4 separate regions of the Homo sapiens genome follow, and regions 2, 3 and 4 are each linked to region 1. Evidence: promoter capture Hi-C in 16 types of primary human blood cells and fetal thymus (Javierre and others, 2016). All regions are on one chromosome and are shown on one strand. Each heading gives the region's core, a stretch centred on a gene start or on the middle of the fragment in contact. The rest is flanking DNA. Distances are from core to core; before and after follow the strand shown. Region 1 holds the start of PSRC1 (proline and serine rich coiled-coil 1). Region 2 overlaps AMIGO1 (adhesion molecule with Ig like domain 1). Region 3 overlaps ATXN7L2 (ataxin 7 like 2). Region 4 overlaps SYPL2 (synaptophysin like 2).

The links. The method cuts DNA at HindIII sites, captures the fragments that hold promoters and counts their contacts. A CHiCAGO score of 5 or more calls a contact.
Region 2: a fragment that was not itself captured here is called in contact with the fragment with the promoter of PSRC1 in region 1 in 1 of 17 cell types (fetal thymus); the score reaches 5.5 in fetal thymus.
Region 3: a fragment that was not itself captured here is called in contact with the fragment with the promoter of PSRC1 in region 1 in 1 of 17 cell types (total CD4 T cells); the score reaches 5.2 in total CD4 T cells.
Region 4: a fragment that was not itself captured here is called in contact with the fragment with the promoter of PSRC1 in region 1 in 2 of 17 cell types (total B cells and erythroblasts); the score reaches 5.5 in total B cells.

The regions. Positions count from the first base shown.
Region 1 is chr1:109,281,895-109,285,019 of GRCh38, reverse strand. PSRC1 (proline and serine rich coiled-coil 1) reads left to right here and starts at 1,875. Exons shown (of 8, transcript NM_001032291.3): 1 at 1,875-1,957; 2 at 2,284-2,340; 3 at 2,445-2,502; 4 at 2,960-3,125. The coding sequence starts at 2,322. RefSeq lists enhancers at 1,364-1,413, 781-1,506. The HindIII fragment of the contact is 13,254 bases long and covers 1-3,125 here.
Region 2 is chr1:109,504,002-109,507,126 of GRCh38, reverse strand. It overlaps AMIGO1 (adhesion molecule with Ig like domain 1), which reads left to right. Exons shown (of 2, transcript NM_020703.4): 2 at 1-2,949. Among named protein-coding and RNA genes, the nearest start is that of AMIGO1, 4.2 kb to the left of the region's middle. The HindIII fragment of the contact is 358 bases long and covers 1,444-1,801 here.
Region 3 is chr1:109,485,383-109,488,507 of GRCh38, reverse strand. ATXN7L2 (ataxin 7 like 2) reads right to left here. Exons shown (of 11, transcript NM_001350175.2): 2 at 2,386-2,451; 3 at 1,898-2,002; 4 at 1,291-1,501; 5 at 704-990; 6 at 43-125. Among named protein-coding and RNA genes, the nearest start is that of ATXN7L2, 3.0 kb to the right of the region's middle. The HindIII fragment of the contact is 440 bases long and covers 1,478-1,917 here.
Region 4 is chr1:109,467,583-109,470,707 of GRCh38, reverse strand. The region is part of intron 2 of SYPL2 (synaptophysin like 2); the gene reads right to left. Among named protein-coding and RNA genes, the nearest start is that of SYPL2, 2.6 kb to the right of the region's middle. The HindIII fragment of the contact is 489 bases long and covers 1,468-1,956 here.

The sequences.
Region 1 (3,125 bases), core at 626-3,125:
GCTCTGCCTCCCAAGTTCACGCCATTCTCCTGCCTCAGCCTCCCGAGTAGTTGGGGCTACAGGGGCCCGCCACCACGCCCGGCTAATTTTTTGTATTTTTAGTACAGACGGGGTTTCACCGTGTTAGCCAGGATGGTCTGGATCTCCTGACCTCGTGATTCGCCCGCCTCGGCCTCCCAAAGTGCTGGGACTACAGGCGTGAGCCACCGCGCCTGGCCTACTTTCTTTACCATCTTGGTTTCTGGCAGATTTGGCCGGCTTCTTTACTGCACCGTTTTATTAGAGGGATGTTTGAGATCTGTATCTTGTGCGGACCTGCTGTCTCCTCCTGTTGTTACCAGAAAGGGGTCCGGATCCAGACCCCAAGAGAGGGTTCTTGGCCCTTGCATAGGAAATAATTCAGGGCAAGTCCATAAAGTGAAAGCAAGTTTATTAAGAAAGAAAAGGGATAAAGAATGCCTACTCCAGAGGCAGAGCAGCCCGGAGGGCTGCTGGTTGGCCATTTTTATGGTTATTTCTTGATTATATGCTAAACAAGGGATGAATTATTCATGAGTTTTCCGGGAAAGGGGTAGGCAACTCCCTGGAACTAAGAATTCCTCCCCTTTTTAGACCATGTAGGGTAATTTCCTGATGTTGCCATGGTATTTGTAAACCGTGGTGATGCTGTCTGGAGTGTCTTTTAGCATGCTAATACATTATAATTAGCGTATAATGAGGACTGAGGACCTCCAGAGGTCAGTTTCATCGCCATCTTGGTTTCGGTAGGTTTTGGCTGGCTTCTTTACCGCATGCTGTTTTACCACCAGGGTCTTTGTGACCTGTATCTTGTGCCAACCTCCTATCTCATCCTGTGACTTAGAATGCCTAACCTCCTAGGAATACAGCCCAGGTCTCAACCTTATTTTACCCAGCCTCTATTCCAGATGGAGTCGTTCTGGTTTGAAGCCTCTGACAAGTTCACTGGTGGCCCGGGCAACATTTAGAAACAACAGAGACAACACTCCTAACAAGTTGGTTTAAGCATTTTACAAATACTGCTTTTAGTTCAGAGGGGGCTACTTACAAACACCCCCTCTAAATCCCCTAAGGGCACACGGTAGAAAACGCCTTCATAATTATCCTCGTAACACCGTAACTGCGAGGACCAACATCCTCCTTTCACAGATAAGCGAAGAGAGGTGAAAAGAGGGCAAATATACTCAAGGCAGCCGCCTCTAAACCGAAACTTGGGTTCTGAGGTCAGTTAAACTTGGGTTGCATTTGAACCTAAGCCTGCCTGCGTGAAAAGCCCGTTGCTTTCTTTGCACCTCAGCTGCCTCAGGTTCTTGAAGAGGCGATGGAGGATGTACTTCTAAGAGAACCTCAATATACCTACAATATAAGTGTTTAGGTGCTCCCTTAACTTGGAAAAAACCCACAACTGAGGAACCTCGGCCAATGCGGCGCCTGCATATTGAGTGCGCCCAAGAAAACGAATTTCCTCCCGTAGAGCGTCGGTTAGCGGCCACGTTAGGCAGCACAACCGTTCTGGAGACTGGGTGCTCGGCGGCCCAGCAGAGGGAGCGGGGCGGGGCGCGAGTTCCATACTCGTGGGTCCGTTTCTTCCCTCCTGGCCAGCCGCGCTCTGCTCCCATCTGCCTACGGGAAAGAGAGTCTCCGCGCACGCGAGCACGCGCACTCGCAGCCTCAACCCTCGGCTCCGCCACCGGGATGCAGTCTTCTGGGAACGGTTCTCCCCCAGCCCCCACCGGCTGACTTCCGGCCGGCAGCTCCTCAGCCCCTCCCCCTGAGGATTCACCAATCACGGTGCGCGTGTGGCTTGAGTAGGTGGGGCCTGAGAGATTCGAAAGGAGCCCCGCCCCCTCGGAGCTGATTCCCGGGACTAGGTTGCGGGAGAAAGCCTGTTGCGTGGAAGATAAGGCGGCGCGGGAAGTGGACACAGGGTGGGCTGGAGGTGTGCTTCGCGTGTGATGCCAGGGGAGTGGAAAGGTGGCTTGGGGAGTGCAGAACCCTGAGGATAGTGGCGGGGAGGAAGATGGGGCGTGCAGGCCGCCCCCAGTGAGGAGAGGCCAGGATGCAGGGCGGCTCCAGGGCAATCTGGGCAGTTGGGGGAGCCCTCCGTATCGTTCCCGGAGGTAGCAGGAGTAGCTGTGCGGGAGGTGCCACTCCTGGGCGCTTGCTTTGCCTCCAGCATGACCCCCGACCCTGGCTTGCACCCTGAATCTAGCTGCGAGCCTTGGGCAGAATGGATACCTGAGGAAAGGTATGGTTTCTCTCCAGCTCAGATCTAACTGGACTCTCGCTCCTGCTGGCTGGACATGGAGGATTTGGAGGAAGGTAAGGAAAGGAGGGAGGGAAGAATGAAAGGGAGGAGTGAGACCCAGCGATGGAGAGCTGCATCAGGGACCCATGACTGGCTTTCATTCTTCTTTCCCCTTCAGATGTAAGGTTTATTGTGGATGAGACCTTGGACTTTGGGGGGCTGTCACCATCTGACAGGTACCAGCCTCTTTATCCCACTTATTTTCCTCTAACAGTACCTCTTTGTCTCGAATCCCTTACTGCTGAATTATTGGCTTGGGTTGGTAACTTAGCAAGGTTTGGCGCACTTGGGGCTGCTGGGCGGCTGGCTGACTCGGGCCTCTATGACACTATTGGTAGCGGGGAGAGAAGGGAGAAGCTGGAGTTAGATTTCAGGGTGTTAAGAAGAAGGATAAGTGGATTTGCTGCATCTCCATCCTGGCATCATTTCTGATGTCCGTAAATGCTAAAGGCCTATTAGGCCCCATAGAACCAGGTATCTCATCGCCCAGAGGCCACATCTCACAGCCAGCATGGGCATCGGGGCCTAGGGTCATGTCCCTGGCTCTGTTGTGGGGCTTTTATGCAGTCTCCCTTGCATAATCTCCTGTTCCCTTTTGCATGGGCATGATGCCTGGTTTGTTTCCTGTCTCAGCCGTGAGGAGGAAGACATAACAGTGTTGGTGACTCCAGAGAAACCACTTCGACGGGGCCTCTCCCACCGAAGTGACCCAAATGCAGTGGCACCTGCCCCCCAGGGTGTGAGGCTCAGCCTAGGCCCCCTCAGTCCAGAGAAGCTGGAGGAGATCCTCGATGAGGCC
Region 2 (3,125 bases), core at 373-2,872, 220 kb before region 1:
AGAACAGATTCCCTAAACTTTCATGAGGTCATCCCTAGCTCCTTAAGAGAAAAACATTTAGAAAAAAAAATTTTTTCTATCTCTGCCCACCCACACCTGTGATGTTGTGTGTGTTGGGGGAGCTTCCACAGGAGCCACACTGGGGAAAAGCTGTAGTATCTTCTTTGTTTAGCAAGTCAAACTTCACAGCTGGGGAAGTTGAAAACCTTTGGAAAATGAGTCAGGAAAAGGCTGAGACCTCAATCGGTAACAATTCCCCAAAGCTGTTGTAAGACTTTGCATTAAAGCCTTCCTTTTTCCTGATGTGCCCTGGGTGGATGGATCTTTGCAGGAGCCTGGCCTGCTGCCTTTTAGTTACAACAGCAATGTGGGATGTGGTATCTGTGCCTTGTCCTGGGACCAATGGCACAGAGGGTTATAGCATGAACTGAAGGGTCCATGTCACAGCATAGGTGCCAGCACGAAACTTGTAGATGGGGGGTGAATTCCAGATAGGCTAATTCCCTGGTTGGTGAAACCCTTGGTTAGTATTTGATTCCCAGCATCTGTGTGTCAGGCCAGAGTGGGGGCTGCTGAAGGCAGAGCTTTTATGGATGCCTGCCACAGACGTGGTACATGGGCCCACTTCACGATAGAAGGATGAAGGTAAATCAGCCTCTATTATGTAGCATCCAGCTGGACCTAGCTGATTCTCAATGTATGCCATCTCTTCATCCAGTCTCCTTATCAAGCTCAGGTGGGATTCTGAATTTTCCCTAATATGCTGCTCTGTAAAGGGAGGAGTCCAAGAAAGCCTGGCCCCAGCTGGCTTAGAGTAGGCTTGGCGATAGTGAAAATCCAGTATATATCTCCTCTGTGTGGACAAGGTTGCCTTGCTCCTCTCAGAGATACCACCTCTGCTGCAAAGTCAAAGCATGGGGTTTTGACATCAGAAGGGTTGGAATTGGGTGGTCTCTACCCCAGAATGGCAATTTGGAGTGCAGCTTCAAGTTCTGCCCTCTCCACAGATTCCAGGCAATCCTGAAGCAGAGATAATCAGTAGTACTAAACTTTCAGAAGGGGAGTTCTGCCACCCCATTCCTCCATCGAGAGGTCTTTGCAGTTGTGGTTGTGAGGCCAGAGGAACTTAAGAAGAATGAGCTCAACATTCCATTCCATCCAAGGTTGCAGAATACTTTGAGTATGGAGATGACCGATCCCTTTAACCTTTCCCTTTGACTACACTGCATGCCCTGTGAGTGGCTGCTCTGAGCTTTGGCGGGGGATGAGCAGGGTGAAGGTGAAAATGTTCTCTGATGTTGGTTTTTCTTAGGGTCTCTTCTCTCCCACGTTTCTAGTCCATTGGAAGTTCTCCAGATCCTCTAGATTTCTGACCTCTTTTTACATTCTAAGAGGTGTCATTTACCTGTGGGTGAGGGGCTTGGAGGGCCTGACTATTAAGCTTCCTATTATGATTGGGGAAGGGGACTCAACATCTTCCCCTTGTCTGGTCCTGGGAACTCAAGACTGCTGTCCATCCTTTATTAGTAACCTAGTTTTGTTGAGAGAGAGGTGCAGCATTTCCCTCAAGTACCTGCATGCTCATAGGTATGCATGCTTATAGGTATGCATGCACACCAGCACCTTGACTTCCACCAGGACAGTGAATCTGTAGTCCCCATTAATGATACTCTCAGAATGGTCTCCACCAATGTGCACAACTTCATGCACACAATTGTATTCCTCTTTAGGAGAGACAGTGACCATGCCAGGCTCTTCAAATACACACTCCTGTATTTTCATTTCTGAACTCCCTGAAGCTTCACCCACATCTCCATGGCACTGAATCACTTTTCTGCCCAGGCTGGAGTTAGAAGAACCATGGGTTGAAGGCCTTGGGAGAAGAGGTGGTAAGGAGCTACCTGGTTCTTTGGACTCCTCAGAAACCTCCCGTGAAGACTATATATATGAGCAATATATGAGCAATTAAGATAGAACTAGGTCATTGAAGGACTCAGAAGGAAACTGGCAAGGGGCTAAGTAGCTGTGAGCTGCTCTTCCTGTTAACTGTCCTCAGGAGAGAAAAGTTGTCTTGATTTATTCCAGAGACTCCTGAGAATTTTGTTACTGGAGCTATAGGAACTAGGACTCCCTCCTCAGACTCATCAGGAAATCTGGGAAAATCTCATCTCCATGCTGCAGTCTCCCCGCTTGGCACCATCTAGGGCTCTGAAGATCTTTAAAGTGAGCGTTAAATGAAGCAGGCCTTCTGGGGCATCGTGATGGAGCTCCTGAGGACTGGGAGGGCCGTTTTCTTCATAATTCCTACCCAGTTTAGGGAATGAGAAAAGGCCCTGTGGCTCTTAAGTCTCCTGACTATATCCACTAGTTTGGCCTTGAGTTTGAGACACCTGGTAGATGTACCTGGCTGCCCTACCAAGAGATTTGATTTGTTTCTTCCCGTGGTTTCAGGTGATAGAACCCAAAGGTAGCTTTTTAATTGGAGAATTGAATAATCAGCATATGTAAGCGCACTAGAACCCTGTGTTGAAAACTGCCAGGTGTGGGTATAAGAAAAGGCCGAGAGATCACCACCTCCTCTTACCCTACCCCACACCCATAAACCAGACATGTCTCCCAGGAAGCAGGTGTCCCTGGAGACAGAGGATGACAGGGCTCTACAATCTGTGTAATTATTATTATTATTATTATTTTGTATTTATGGGGCCCAAGAAAGGGGCCAGGAGAGGGTACACCCCAGCTGGGGAGAGCAAAGCAGATGGATCCAGTTTTCTGTGTGTTCTTACCTCTGTACTTCCTCGTAGCTCTGCTGACAAAGCAAGCAGGCCTCCCGTGTCCAAGACCCCATTCCTCCCACTTGTGTACACCTAGGCTGGCAAATCTTGGAGCCTCTGGGCTCTGAAAACTAGACAATGATCATTAAACCTGGCTTGAGTCTCTGTTCTGGCACAATCTGACTGGTTTATTTTTTCAGCCTGTGGGTGGGGTTCACTGTACCTCAGAAGGGTGTGTCCTATCTAGGAAGAAAATCTTTAAGTGCTATTGTACGGACATGGGTGAAATACACATCTAGGCATTAAGATGGACCGGGGTCAGCAAACATTTTCCCTAACGAGCCAGATAGT
Region 3 (3,125 bases), core at 448-2,947, 200 kb before region 1:
CCTGTGCTGTCCTCCCTCACCGTGCAGTGGGAAGGGGGTTACCTTGCAGGTCAACAGGCGGGTACAGATCTTTTTGGTCTCTGGATTTATTACCCCACACTGCCTGTTGAGGTCGCACTCCTTCCCTGTGGGGAAAGCACTTCCAATGAACCTCAAGACCATTTCCAGGAGTTTACAGGAGGATTTGGCCGCTTCCTGCCAAGGGCCTGAGAACTGGTACTAAGGCAGAAGAGACTCCAGCCCTCAGCCTGGGGCTGTACCTTCCAGATAAACTTCTGGGCATCAACATCTCCTTGCTGGGTGTGAGAACCATCCCTATCCCAATTTCAGGTGCGCCTTTTGGGACTTCAAGCCCAAAGCAGGGCAACACACATCAAGAAACAAAAGCAGCCATGGGCATCTGGGAGGCCAGAGAAGCCAGCTGTGAGATGTGTCTGGCTGGCGCCCTGGATCTAGGTGAGAAAAGAGTGAGAAAGAACTTCACCTCCTGGGCATGGGCTCCCTCAGCCTTGATCAGGAGACACAGGATGGAGAGAAGCTTCCCAGGAAGCAAGCAGGTCAAGAGGTGACGGGGCTCCTATACCCTACAACCTGTGATGGCCAGGCCCATAAACCTGACCTCCTCCTCATCCAGCCCAAGGACAAAGCAGCCCAAAGGAGTCCCCACTCTACATTCTGGACCCCCAAGACCACAACTACTCACGAGCCATCTTCCGGTGGGTTTTAGGGGGCAGCCTGGTCCCACTGGGCTCCTTTTCAGGAGGGCTGCCTTCAGCCCAGTGACTGGACCCCTCACTGGGGATGATCTCGATGTTCTCTCTGCCAGGAGGTTCTTTAGAAGGGGGAGCCATGGGAGGTTTTCCAGGGGAGTCCTTGGTGAGGCCCCCTGGCTGGCTGAGAAAAGCAGAGGGTGGGGCCACCCTGATTCCATGTCCATCAGGCTTCGGGAGACTGGACATCTTCTCCAGATTCACCACAGGCACGAAAAGGCTACACACAGAGAGAGGGGGTTGGCTGAGGGAGGGGAGGGGAGGCGAGGCCTGGGGCCTGGACTCTAGCCCAGAGCCATCTCTTTCCCAGCCCTGGAATTTGGGTGGGCTCCAGCAGGGGTGTGAAACACGGGAAGAGGAGACCCCATCTTCCCTGGAATATATGGAAGGAAGCTGCAGACAGGACGGCTGCCTCCTGCTGTGAGGAGTATGCCTTGACCCAGGGCTGTCTGTATTGATGTCAGCCCATCCATGGGTCAGGGTCAGGGCCAGTCTTAGAAAGTTTCCAGCCTCTCCTTACCAGAGGTTGTCCTTCTGGGTCTTCTCAGGAGGCTGGTGGCCACGGCTCCGGGACCCCTGGCCCTTCTCCCTGGAGGAGGTTTTCGTGGAACCTGGGGCCCTACAAGCTGGGCCCTGCCCATTCACTACATGGCATTTCTGAGAGCTGGCAGGGGCTGGAGGTGGGGGTGGGGCCCGGCCATAAAGCTTGCTGAGGGGCCCATGTCTTCTTTCTGTCACCAGGAGGTGGAAAGAATAATCAAGGTGAGTGGTATCACCACTTCCTTCCCCAACCTAACCATGTCCATAGACTCACATGAGAGAATCTGAGTTTCCATAAATTAGATTGTAAACATGCCTCCTTCCCATTTGAATCTGAGCCTTTAGGACTCAAAATTCAAGACCCAGCTTCCTGAATGTCTTAACTCCTCCCGTAATTCCACTGGATGCTAGAATTTTGTTCAAACAATAACCCGACTCCCCACAATGCTCTGAAGCCACCCCCACAACCTTCCTATCCTCAACACCACCCTCCATTACCCTACGAGACCTCCCAACTGACCCTGTCCTCAGAGTTCCATGCTCCACCTTCCCCTGTCCCTTTATCTCCTCCCTAGGGCTCCCCTCACCGCAGTGCTTCTGGAAAGCTTGAGGCTTCACCACTTGGCTGCAGTGGTTACACACAACCAAGTAGAAGTCATCATGGGCAGGGCAGTGCCCGAAGATGGACATGTCTGCAATGACAGAAGCCCATGTCACTGGGGCTGAAGATCCCAGGGTTTCTCTGGAAGATCGGAGAGCACTCCCACCCCACACTCAGAAGGCACTTCACCTCCCCGCTGATATAACAAGCTCCATGCTGAATGCTTCCAGCTTCCAGAGTTCGATCTAAGCAGTCCCAAAGGGTATACGCTTTCAGGTGAGTGGGCAATCACCTATGATTATGATCTCCAACGACAGGTCACAGGAGCCAGAACAACCGGCCGACTCGGACCTATCAAAATGAGGGTCCCCAGACAGCTGCTTCAAGCAGCCACCTCCTTCTGTAGTGTGGTGGAAAAGTGGAGCGTGGTCCTGTCTGCCCTGGGTCCCAGCCCTAATGTGTGTCGACTCCCACCTTCTTTAATGAGGGTCATGGCATCCAACTTCTTCGTGTTTTTGCTACTCTCCTCCAGCTCAGCCCCTAGAGGAGAAACACAGCTCAGAAGGGTCAGGGCCAGTTTTAGAGAGTCTCCAGCCTCTCCTTACCAGAGACTGTTCTTCCCAGAAGACAACCCAGAGGTTGTCCCCTTTCCAGAAGCCCCAAGCAGGGCCTGCAGCTCAACAGTATGAAGCCCACACTCCGTGACAAGCTCCTGGTGCTAGGACCACTTGGGGAACCTTTCAGTGGGTCCATTCTCAAATGCCCATCTTCCTTCACCTGCTGCATCTGGACTAAGATGGCCCCACTAAGAAGAATCCATCCACCTTTCTTATGGGACCCTTCACTTCAAGGTGCAGTTTAGGGTTCCACTGCTAACTAGTTGGGTGATTGTGGGTAAGTATCATCTCTTTTCTGGGCCTGCTTCCCCATTTAAAGGGGAAACCGTCCTTAACCAATGTTTCTATAAGTCCCTGAGTCTCTTCTTGAGATTTCTCGATGGGTCCTTTCTGCTACTATGTGGCATCCCAAATAGATACTCTCCCAGGTCCCCACCCCCATGAACTCAATTTTGCTCCACCTGGGTTACCATAGCATTGTCAAAGTTACACCCAGCTTCTCAGGTCCTGCACTGATAGGATGGTCACAGAGCAGAGAAACTGCTGTCTTTGGTCCTTGAGCATCTTCAAAGTCTCCTTGGTCAGCTATGCAAGTCC
Region 4 (3,125 bases), core at 463-2,962, 190 kb before region 1:
TGACTGAGACACAGAGAAGAGAAGGAAAGAACTAAAATCACCCCTGTCACCAAGCACAAGGCTCTGAGATGAGCAAACTGGTTATAAAGAGCAGCCAAGGAGAGGTAGAGGACCTGAGACAAGGGGGAGTTCTAGCATTCTGGTGCCAACCAGCCTTTCTCCTCTTGGACCTCCATTGCTGGGACAGCGACGGTCATTTTCTGCCCTCCGCCTCCTCTTGCTTCTGCATCTCTTTTGCAACCTTAAACCTTTCCAGTTTAAGGATGAGGCTCCCCTTTGGCACTGACATGCTCGCTGGTGATAATCCTGTGACAGTCCTGAGGACACTAACATCACCAGTTAGCTCAGAGCACAAGGAAGACAAATTCTCTCCCCAGGTCCTACTCCCACGCTTATCTCATTGTTTTTTGTTTTGTTTAGGCGAGGTAACAGGCTCATGCCTGTAATCTCAGCACTTTTGGAGGCTGAGGTGGGAATATCACCTGAGCCCAGGAACTCAAAGCCAGCTGGGGCAGCATAGCAAGACCCGATTTTTACAAAAATTTTTTACAACTTAGCTAGGCATGGTGGCATGTGCCTTTGGTCCCAGATACTTGAAAGGCTGAGGTGGGAGGATTGCCTGAGCTTGGAAATTTAGGCTGCAGTGAGATGTGTTCGTACCACTGCACTCCAGCCTCAGCGATAGAGCCAGTCTCTATCTTAGAGCCTGTCTGAAAAAAAAAAAAGATTTGATATTTACTCACTCAAGGTTCCAGAGCTAGAAAGCAAGAAAGCAGAGGGGACTCAATTTAAACCGAAGCCTATCTGACCTCAAAAATCTGTCTCTATCTTCCTTTTTCTTTTGTTTTATTTTCCTTTTTTTTTTTTTTTTTTTTTTTTTGAGACAAGGTCTAGTTCTGTCACTCAGGCTGGAGTGCGCAGCTCATTGCAGCCTCGACCTCCTGGGCTCAATGATCCTCCAGCCTCAGCCTCCCAAGGAGCTGGGACCACAAGCATGTGTCATCACACCCAACTAATTTTATTTTTTAATAGAGACGCGACCTCCCCTTATTGCCCAGGCTTGTGTCAAACTCCTGGGCTCAAGCAATCCTCCCACCTCAGCCTCCCAAAGTGTGTCTTTTTCTTAAAAAGAAAATTTTTTTTAAGATACTTCTTTTCTTTTCTTTTTTATCTTGAACTCCTATGATTTGATGTCCTTTTCTTTTTTAAAAAAAAACTAGTTCTCCAATAATTGGTCTATGTCCAGGTTATTTTTGCTAGCTTAGTATAGACTTAGTGAGACTCCAGAATTGGAATTGAGGTGAGATTAGTTGATTTCTCAATTAAAAAAAAAAAAACTCTAAGATAAGCTCCTGACAAATAAAAGAATAACATTACTTTCTTTTCACAAAGATTCCAGTAAAATCTTTGCTTTTTGGTAATAATGACAACAAAAGTTCTCAATTACCATTACAATAACTGCAAGCTTTGTGTTTTCTTTTTTCCTTCTCCAATCAGGAGCATTTGATCCCTCCAAACAGGAAATGAGTGAAAAACTCAAATGACATTTCCACTGTCATTTCTGGTGCTAATGCCTGTTTACTTTTTATGTTACCTCATCTGCAGAGCTTCAAAGCAAGTGAAACTGGCGCCCTGAATTCAGGCTACCTGGGATGGCAATAAAAGCAAAGCACGTTTCTTTGTGATGCTACCCTGTGAATGAAATCTGAATTCAGAGTCTAGCCCAGGGCCCAGGTTTTAGCATTCTGAGAGAAAAGGGTCTCTGTTTTGCACAACCCCCTTTCTAAGTACTTGAAGATCATAAAAGTCTATCAGATCTTAATTCCTAGGTCATTAGTGCTGACCCCAAGACTGCATCATTTCCCTGGGCATTGCTTTGTACAGCCTTTACAGAAATGTTGTGGGTATTTGGAGTGCTGCGTGGAGGGAAGGATGGCAGGATTGAAGAAGGAAGCTTTTCAGAATCCCTCCAAGGGAGAGGAGTCCATGGTCTAATAACCTCATTGTTTCCCTTATCCTTTGACAGTCTGTCTCAAATTCTGTTGGATCCATTTGTCTAATTTAATGGTAAAATTGCTTATAATGGCTCTTCCAGTTCTGGATGCCAGTCACTCAGAGCCTTAATATCATTTTTATATGGCTCCCTCTGGCACTTGAGTGGTGGATCAGAACAGGGAAGGGGCCAAAGGCAAAAGAGCTCAATCAGCAATTGGTCTAACCACTCTTGAGGCAGTAAGAAAGGTGGAGAGTCCCCACCAGGTCCCAGAGTTTGCACTTGGGAGCTCCCAGGCTGGCCCGATAATCCCAAATGCACTTTTGCCCCTGGGTTCCAGATTTGATTATTCTCATCCAAACCATGATTTAAGAACTGGTGTCACAGTGCTAATTCTTGTCTCCAAAGCCCTGTAGAACTCAATCCTCCTCAGTATTAATGGTAACTTATTCCCTAGCTGAATTCTGTACTGAGAGCACATTAATTAAGTTATTCACACACCATTTGGTATGTGGATTGTCTAATTTAAAATCTCTTCTGCAATAGTGCACTAAATGCCCCCTACAAGTCTTTATGATTTGAGAAATTGACTGCACCTGTCCACATTCCTAATTTATACCCAGGAGGCCTTAGGCACTGGCCTAGTGAAGCAAGATAGTATTTCCACTAGACTGTAACAGGGGAAACTGAGGACCTGAGCAAGTGACTTTTTCAAGGTCACAAAGTAAGTCTAACCTAGGGCCATATTCTGGCACACCAAACTATTTAGAGCATAAGGAGACCCTAGGAAGGTTCTGATCAACATCTAACTAGTGTTGGAAATTGAAGTCCAGAGAAATGAATTGCCCAAGGTGACATAGCTGGAAAAGGCCAGTCTAGGTCTGGATCCCAGGGCCCCAGCTTCTCAGATCAGTGTTCCATTTTATTCTACATGCCACATTTTAGCCATGCCGTGATTTTTATTCTTATTTTTTTCTTTTATTTAATCATAGAACCACAAGCTCCGTTCATTCATTCATCCACTCCCTCACTCATTTACAGGAACTCGGATTACTCCAGTGACCTCAAAAGGGAACGGCGAGCCGAGAGCCTGTCCCCTGAGCCCAGTACTTGCAGGATCATCCAGGCCCTG